Linked DNA regions of Homo sapiens: regions 2 and 3 are each linked to region 1. The links are contacts of gene promoters, found by promoter capture Hi-C in blood cells and fetal thymus (Javierre and others, 2016). All regions are on one chromosome and are shown on one strand. The core of a region is centred on a gene start or on the middle of the fragment in contact, and the rest is flanking DNA. Distances in the headings are between cores, read along the strand shown. Region 1 holds the start of SLC15A2 (solute carrier family 15 member 2). Region 2 holds the start of FBXO40 (F-box protein 40). Region 3 has its middle 11 kb from the start of CSTA.

Region 1 (2,938 bases), core at 393-2,892:
TACCTGATATCCAAGCAGTGAGATTCAGATGTCAGTCTCTGCTTAGCCCCACTATGGGGACTCTTGTCCCCAGCTGTTCTGTTTGCCATGCTGGGAGGAATCCTGGCAATATGATAGCTTCTACTTCAGAGGCTGCTGGAGTCAGGCACAGAGCCCAACATGGAGGACAGAGATTCCTAAGGGTAAGCTAATTGATCACCTTGACTTTAGGCAGAGTTCTTAAATCCTGTAAAATTAAATGTCTACTCTTCCTACTAAAGAGATTCTATAACATTTTCATGATAATCCTACTGGACATTAAAAGAATTATGCTTTTCATGTAATATATCAGTCAGAATATAAGGAATGTTATGTTTTATTTTAATTCCCTATCTATTACAATAGACCAACTAACATGAGAAGAGACATAGAGGTATCTGTCCTCAGTACAGTCAAATCTTGTAAGATTTATATTGCCTCATTTCATGAGAAGTATATACATCTTTGCAAGTAGCCCTAAATTCTTTGGGACCAGAAGAGATATCATTAACTAAAAAAATAGGCAAAATAATAAAGTAATGTATTATTCTTTTAACCCTAGGGATATATATAAATGATCCTCCTAAATATTAATATATTTTAATGTTTTATAATAGCTTGTTTGAAACATACAATGAACTGGGCTTCTTACCTTTGCAGCTCACAGCTTGAGAATTATGCAATCTGGAGTTTAGCCGACACACTGTTAGCTAGTTAGGCAACACTGCCACTGGCTGTGTTAACATACTGATACTGGCATTGTCACTACACCTGTCTCAAAACCTCTGTTCTGTTATTCCAAAGAAATGAGAATAACATCACCTTTTGGCCCACTGTAAGAACTCAGTAAATTTTGGCTATCATTACTATATCCTCCCCACTTACAGAATTTTAGTGTAAGAATTGACTGAGATGATGAGTTTAGAAGTGCTTTAGCGAGTATATAAATGCAAAACATTACTATTCTCTGTTTCTCTGTCCTATCTCCCACAGTAAACTGGGAACACATAGTAACAGAAATTGGATCTATTCTGAAACTTCCATTGGTGTTCAGCAGAAGACTCTGCACACAGGGAGAACTAAGGGCAGAGTTTTTATATTGGTAAAGAAAGAACAATCACACACAGTTCTTCAGACAAGAATGCTTGCCAAGTTTCCCTGGACATTCGAATTGCTTTTTTCCCCCAGGGAAACAGAATATGCAATGAAATTCAGCAAGTCCCTGGATCCCAACTGAAGAACTTTGACTACCTCTTCCTGCTGCTTTGTCTTCTTATGTAAAGGAAGCTTCTGTTTAGATTTGGTTTCAGGTGAATTCTAAATCCAAGAGAGAAGCATTTTAATACCCTAATACAGCTCAGCTGGAAGCTCCAGAGCCCAAGGAAGAGAGCCAAAAGAGGGAGGCCATTCCTCTCAGAGGCAGGATTGAATCTAAGGACTCACCGGAGATGGCTTCTTTGGAGGGCTAGGTGGTCGAGGTGGTACCTCTTCAATGGAGACAGGTGAAAAAAGAGTTTCCTTGGACTCATTTTTCTGGAAAGGATTCATGGCTGGCTCCTTACTCTCTCTCTCTCCTCAAGCATTTGGCTTTAGTAGGCAGTTAGGACAGCTGCCAGCCTACTCTGAAAAGAAGGACTGGGAGGGGGAGCTGGTGGCTTCAGCAACTCAGTTTAACTCTGTGGGTGTCAGCTTCAATAGCTTCCTGATCCAGAGCAAAGCAGGAAGCTATAGTTAAAAAGAATGTGTAAAAGTACAGCACAGCAAAGTGAAAACATGCCAAAGACAGAATGAAACAATGCTAGAGAACTGATTAGAAAGTCTATGTTTAAGAAAGATTATCTTTGCAAAGGAGTAGAAGATAGTTAAGAACACAACACCTCGAGCACAGATTGAAAAACTGATTCCATGGTCAGGCGCGGTGGTTCACGCATATAATCCTAGCACTTTGGAAGGCCCAGGCAGGCGGATCGTTTTAGGTCAGCAGCCTGGCCCACATGGTGAAACCCCGTCTCTACTAAAAATACAAAAAAAAAATTAGCTGGGTGTGGTGGCGGGCGCCTATAATCCCAGCTACTCAGGAGGCTAAGGCAGAAGAATCACTTGAACCTGGGAGGCGGAGGTTGCGGTGAGCTGAGATTGCACCATTGCACTCCAGCCTGGGCAACAAGAGCGAAACTCCATTTCCAAAAAAAAAAAAAAAGAAAAACTGATTTCAGGGTAACAATAGCTGTAATTTATTGAACATCTACTATTGAAAGGTTAATATATATGAATTACATCTATGTTGTATATCTATAACATATATATTTATTCTAATTCATATTACTATCCCCATTTTATAGAAAGTAATGTTCCCAGAGGTTAAGAAATTTGTTCAAAGTACCTGTCCACTAAGTGGCAGATCTGGAATTTTCACTATGCCATGACAGCTGGGAAAAGTGGAGTTAGTGTCAGTCATTATTCAGGTATGGAGGTTACATAAATGGAATGTAGGAATGCAGAGGATTAAAATGCATTGGAGAAGGAAAGTCATCATAAAACTGAGTTTGGAAGATAAGAAAGATGGTGAGTTTTGGCTGGGTGCAGAGGCTTACGCCTGTAATCCCAACACTTTGGGAGGCCGAGGTGGGCTGATCACAGCTCAGGAGTTCAAGATTAGCCTGGCCAACATAGTGAAACCCCATCTCTACTAAAAATACAAAAATTAGCTGGGTGTGGTGGCACGCGCCTGTAGTCCCAGCTACTCAGGAGGCTGAGGCAGGAGAATCGTTTGAACCCAAGAGGCAGAGGTTGCAGTGAGCCGAGACCCCACCACTGCACTCCAGCCTGGGCGACGGAGCAAGACTTGAAAGAAAGAAAGAAAAGAAGGGAAAGAAAGGAAAGAAAGAAAGAAAAGAAGGGAAAGAAAGGAAAGAAAGAA
Region 2 (2,866 bases), core at 81-2,580, 300 kb after region 1:
CACTTAGAGAATATTGTTGGCGAAAAAAAGGTGTTAAACTCTGCGGAGTTTGAATAGTATATACAGAAAATACAGTTGTGCTTATTAACCAGTAGTATGACACAGCAGACGAAATTTTAAGCTACATGAGAATGACTTGCAAGCAAACATAGCAAATGTTGACTGGAGAAAAGATCACAGCATTTAGACTTTAGAAAACAGAAATTCTGATCAGGCACAGCGGCTCATGCTTGTATTCTCAGCACTTTGGGAGGCCGAAGCGGGTGGATCACTTGAGGCCAGGAGTTCAAGACCAGCCTGGCCAACATGGTGAAACCCCATCTCTACTAAAAATACAAAAATTAGCCAGGCGTGGTGGCACAGGCCTGTAGTCCCAGCTACTCAGGAGGCTGAAGCAGGAGGCTCTCTTGAACCTAGAAGGTGGAGGTTGCAGTGAGCTGAGACTGCACCACTGCACTCCAGCCTGGGCAACAGAGTGAGACTCTGTCTCAAAAAAATAATAACAATGAATTAAATAAATAAATAAATAATAGAAATTCTGGGCCAGGCACAGTGGCTCAGACCTGTAATCCCAGCGCTTTTGGAGGCTGAGGTGGGCGGATCATTTGAGGCCAGGAGTTCAAGACCAGCCTAGCCATCAAGGTGAAACTCTGTCTCTACTAAAAAAATACAAAAATTGGCCGGATGTGGTGGCATGTGCCTGTAGTCTCAGCTACTCGGAAGGCTGAGGCAGGAGAATCACTAGAACCTGGGAGGTAGGGGCTGCAGTGAGCCAAGATGGTGCCACTGCACTCCAGCCTGGGTGACAGAGCAAGACTGTCTCAAAAAAGAAAGAAAAGGGAATAGAAATCCTGGATTCTAGGCCTTCCACTTGTTTCCTCACCACCTCCTCCACTTCCCCAGATCCCCCCACCCATCACCATGTTGTAACTTTACAGATATCATAACTACTCTTGTTGATTATAGAAGAAAGAACCTAAGCTGTCAGAAAGCAAGTACTCTACCTGCTCTTGAAATGGAAACAGAAATTTACACACGGCTGGATCTCATTCTCAGTGCCAGCCTTTCCCCCACATCTTTACATAACTAATTTGCTTAACAATCCTCTTCCACAGGACACAAAAGTGATATGCGGCTCAGCTTCATCTGCATATTCACCACTGAATGTCCTCGTCATGGTGCACCTGCTCCTGTTTGAATACTTACCTTAATGGAACAGGCTGAGTCAGCATCTGCTTGCACCTGAACCCTTGATTGCAAGTAAGCGGATTGCCGGGAGGTGGCTGGGTTGCATCAGCTGCAGTAGAGGACAGCGTTCTGTTGGGAAGGCAGGGAAAGGAGAGAAAACTTCAACAGAAATAGTCCAAGTGTTGCGAAGTTAAAAATAAAACGATATCACAAGGGGCAATGTGACCAGGCTCAGCTTACGACTTTTTCCTTCCCCTGTATTTATCAACACTCAGTCTCTACTGGAGTGGCATTTAGCAGGGGAAACTGAATGGGAAGTGAAGTTTTATATCAATAGGTTTTCTTTCCCTTGAGGAAGGAGGAAAATCCTTTTAAGAAGGATCATTTTCAAGGCCAGAACAGCCTCTCAGATTCCTGCATGTGCAGTCGGCAGGCCCAGCTGTGCTGAAGGAGGCTGGCACAGCCTTCAGGACTGGCTGCTGCTCTAATTATAACCATGCTCCTCACCTAAACCCATCACTGGCTGAAGCAGCAACTTGTGCAAATGACATGGTGTCCTGCTTCAGTTTCTCCTATCTCTTGTCGTGACAAGTAAGTGTCTGTCCTCCCCTGGTCCTTTCATCTTTCCTGGAAAAGGGAGAGTTTGTAATTCAGATACCAGGTGTAGAGTAAATCCAGTGTGAGAGAATTAGAGGTTGTAGGAGGCTTTAGCTGTCATTTAGTCCAGCTCCCTCTTTTTACAGATGAGGAGACAGAGATTCAGAAAAGGGAAATTGCTCATCCAAGGTCACACATCTCGTTAGTGGAAGAGCCAGAGGAAAGCCCCAGAGAGCTTGTTTAACTCTCAGTCTAGCGTTCTTTATCTTATCATCTTCAGATAAACTCATTCAGGATCTTGTGAGTGAAAAAAATATAGAATCCCGGCTTTGGTGTTTTCTTTTTCTTTTTTTTTTTTTTGAGACAGAGTCTCGCTCTGTTGCCCAGGATAGAGTGCAGTGGCGTGATCTCGGCTCACTGCAACCTCCACCTCCTGGCTTCAAGTGATTCTCCTGCCTCAGCCTCCTGAGTATCTGGGATTACAGGCACGTACCACCATACCTGGCTAATTTTTGTATTTTTAGCAGAGACGGGGTTTCACCATGTTTGTCACGCTGGTCTCGAAATCCTGACCTCATGATCCTCCCACCTCAGCCTCCCAAAGTGCTGGGATTAGGTATGTGATTTTGACAAATTTACTTAACCATTTTCTATTTCAGTTTTCCCCATTGTGAAATGGCGATGATACTTGGTGCGACCACAGGTAACTGTGTCAGTACACATAAGGCACATGAATGATATGTACCACATGCCAAGTGCTCCACAATGCCAGCTGTTATTTGAATGTATTTGAATGTATTTTGACTAACAGCAGATGTGCTAAATTTGGCTGTGATTAACAGCCATCGAATTAACCTTTCCCCTGGATTCTTCATACATATATGTCCTTGGAGGTAAACTTATTTGGAATGAGCAAATAGCAGTTGAAAATTGTAAAAAATTTCTACACTGATCTTGTATCTTGAAACTTTGCTGAACTGGTTTATTAGTTCTAATAGTTTTCTTGTGGATTCCTTAGGATTTTCAAGACCATGCCATCTGTTAACAAAAATATTTTAACTTCTTTCTTTGCGATTTGGAT
Region 3 (2,918 bases), core at 354-2,853, 420 kb before region 1:
AGCAGCATCTAGGGGTGAATGCTTACAGCTCCTGAAGCCCCAGTGGGTGTGTGTTACAGAGTGCTCTTTTAGCTTTGCTGTCTGTAGGTGGCTTGTGTCAATCAGCTCTATTAGACCCTCTGCCTTATAAGGACAGAGGGCGTTCTGTATCCCGGGGTTTTTGCCTTGGTGTACCAGAAGAACCAGATCACATGTGGGCTTGGAGAATGAGTGTAAGGATTTTTATTGAGTGGTAGCTCTCAGCGAGGTAGATGGGAAGGCCAGAAGGGGGCTGGAGTGGGAAGGTGGTTTTCCCCTGCAATCGGGCTTCCGGGCAGCTGGGCTCTTCTCCGACCACCCCAGCCAAACTCTGCATTGTTCCACCAGTCGATGGCCTGCCGAAATCTGTCAGTGCCTGTGGGTGTGCTCTTACGCGGGTGTGTTCCTCTCAATTTCCAGCCGCTTGTGTCCTCAACCATTGGTGTGTTCCTCTTGATGTCCAGCTGCTTGTGTGTGTGCCCGCTAGGATCTTGGAGTTTTTATAGGCACAAGATAGGGGTATGGCAGCCCAGGGTGGTCGTGGGAAATGCAATATTTGGGCATGAGAACAGAAATGCCCATCCTCACCAAGGTCTGTGGGCACAGGTCTGGGGCTGGATCCCCAGCGAGGGACTACGCCTTTCCCTTCCCAGCACTTTCCCGCCCCACTTGCCCCACTCTGTATCAGGAGCATAGTTTGCAGGGCTGTAGGAACAAAGAGCTACCCAGCATCTTTTCAGAGTAAAATTTTCAGCCACCCGCAACTTTTCTCACTTCAAAGTGAGTGTAGCAGCAATCATTTCCCTCTCTCTTCTCTTCAGGACAAAGAAACCAGTGGTCTCAACAATCCCAGTGGCTTTTGGGTGCTCTCAGAACAATGTAGAGAAGCTTGTATGGGCTCAGGGGTCATTCAAACCTCTGCTCAGTAGCCTGGATTGTGAGTTGAGTTGCGTTTTTGCCCTTTAGGGGAGAAAGAAGTTGTTGTAGAGGCCTACCCACACTGAATACTCATCAAATGAACCAGCAATACTGGAGTTGCCTCAGTTTTTATGACTAATAGTAAATTCCAGGGTGGAGTAATGTTATACAATCAATGTTGCTGTGCCTGTCAATATAGAGAAAATTCTGCCCTGCCAGAAATATACACGGATCATAGGCTCTCCCAGTGTGACTTAGTATCAGTTTATGCCCTAGGAAAAATGAGCCCTAAGACTCATACATAATCATAGAACCAAGCTCTCAAAGGCTTCTTGATAAATGTTAATTTATGAGTTTGGTTTTAGCATGGATTAATTATGCTGCTAGGTTCAACTTAGCAGTGCTCTGGTAAGTTGGGCTGGGAACCACCCACACCAGAGTCAGCTGGGATGCCTGTTCAGTGCAGATTCCTGAGTCCCATTCCTAGATTCATTAAATTACAATCTCTTGAGGGTGGGCTCTAGAGTCTGCATTTCAAAAAGAGCTCCCAGGTGATTCTCATATGCATTACATTTAGAAGCCTAGTAACTTACAATGTTGGTGTCCTAAGTTTATAGAGGCAGGAGGGAGGTGAAAAGGTGGAAATCTGGAAGAGTAGTCCACTGCTAGGTGGAAAACATTTTTACAAAGAGAAAACACGTGAAAACAGCTGAAGAAAGAGCCAAAGCAGATGTTGGCAACACGTGCTATCCATATTGAGGTGGGTGCAGGTGGATTCTGGGTTCCTGTTGCAGCACATCTAGTATATACTACATGGGGGCCTATAACATGTCAGTCCTGCAAAGTTTTGTCCTAACCCAGTGGCCTACCCCCAATCCTAGCTGAGGATGCTGTGCCTAGGCAGGTGGAGCTCTTTAATCAACAGGGACAGGTGGTGGCTATAGCTTCACCACTTCATGGGAGTGTCATTATCTTCTATGTCATTTCCACCTGGATCCTTCTAGTGTTCCTTTTCCCCTGCACTGACACAGCCACCTGGGAGAGAAGGGAAGGGAGAGTTAAACTTTAAAACTTCTATTTATTTGTATCCATTGATATTTAGAAACACTGGATTCTTACAGAGGAAGTTTTAAAGACTGAAATAGCGTATTAGCAACCCAAACCTTACATTAAACTAAACAAATGAGGTCTTGGCATAATACTTCTAAGATGTTGGCAATTTACAACTTAAAAGCTCATAGCATAGAAACTGAGGGGGAATATTGCCAGGAATTATGCAAACATACTGGCGGTGATGACTTTGCAACATCTTTCAAATTCACCCTTCCTTGCTGTTTTCATAGCTATCACTCCCTTAAAGCTTTCATCACCCTCTTATTGGCTTATTGTTGACACTCCCTGGTTGGATCCTACCCTTCTAGTTTCTCCTGAAAACCAAGCTCTTTCTCATACACTGAAAAAATATTGCTTCCTAACTTGGGTACTTCCTGTCGTCTATCAAATTCATTTACAATTTTAAGAATAGCCTCCAAGTACTCACAGGTCTTCCTGAACCAGATTCTCTCTCAGAGTTTCTCTCTAGCTGGGTCCTCTTAGATCCTCTTGCACCTCTTTCTCATTCTCATTCTTGCTCCTGTCTCCTTGTTCATACAATGCCCCTTGAAAAGGATGTCATTCCTTCTGTTCTCCATTAATCTACATGCAATACTGCTTTCAAAAACCACACTACCCAAAGCCTTCTGTGGTTTCCTCTAGTTCTTGGTTTGTACTACATATTCCTGTTATCTCAGTTATTACACATATATTTTCTGTTTATCTTCTTGCTGATCTGATTATAATCTCTTCCATGGCAGAAACTGTTGTCTTGATTGTTAGCCATCACATCTCCCAGATTATGAAACACAGCAGCTGCCCAGCAAATATGTGAACAAATTCATAGATCTCACCACTTTCTCATTGGGAGAAGAGGGCAACCAGCCAAC

The links. The method cuts DNA at HindIII sites, captures the fragments that hold promoters and counts their contacts. A CHiCAGO score of 5 or more calls a contact.
Region 2: a contact is called between the fragment with the promoter of FBXO40 here and the fragment with the promoter of SLC15A2 in region 1, in 1 of 17 cell types (neutrophils). The highest score is 7.0, in neutrophils.
Region 3: a fragment that was not itself captured here is called in contact with the fragment with the promoter of SLC15A2 in region 1 in 1 of 17 cell types (monocytes); the score reaches 7.6 in monocytes.

What each region holds. Positions count from the first base shown.
Region 1 is chr3:121,893,105-121,896,042 of GRCh38, reverse strand. SLC15A2 (solute carrier family 15 member 2) reads right to left here and starts at 1,642. Exons shown (of 22, transcript NM_021082.4): 1 at 1,462-1,642. The coding sequence starts at 1,566. RefSeq lists enhancers at 2,150-2,682, 2,683-2,938. The HindIII fragment of the contact is 13,918 bases long and covers 1,308-2,938 here.
Region 2 is chr3:121,591,843-121,594,708 of GRCh38, reverse strand. It overlaps FBXO40 (F-box protein 40), which reads right to left and starts at 1,330. Exons shown (of 4, transcript NM_016298.4): 1 at 1,207-1,330. RefSeq lists enhancers at 658-1,309, 1,310-1,960, 774-1,973 and a silencer at 1,093-1,387. The HindIII fragment of the contact is 3,467 bases long and covers 1-2,866 here.
Region 3 is chr3:122,312,833-122,315,750 of GRCh38, reverse strand. No RefSeq gene overlaps it. Among named protein-coding and RNA genes, the nearest start is that of CSTA, 11 kb to the left of the region's middle. The HindIII fragment of the contact is 1,390 bases long and covers 909-2,298 here.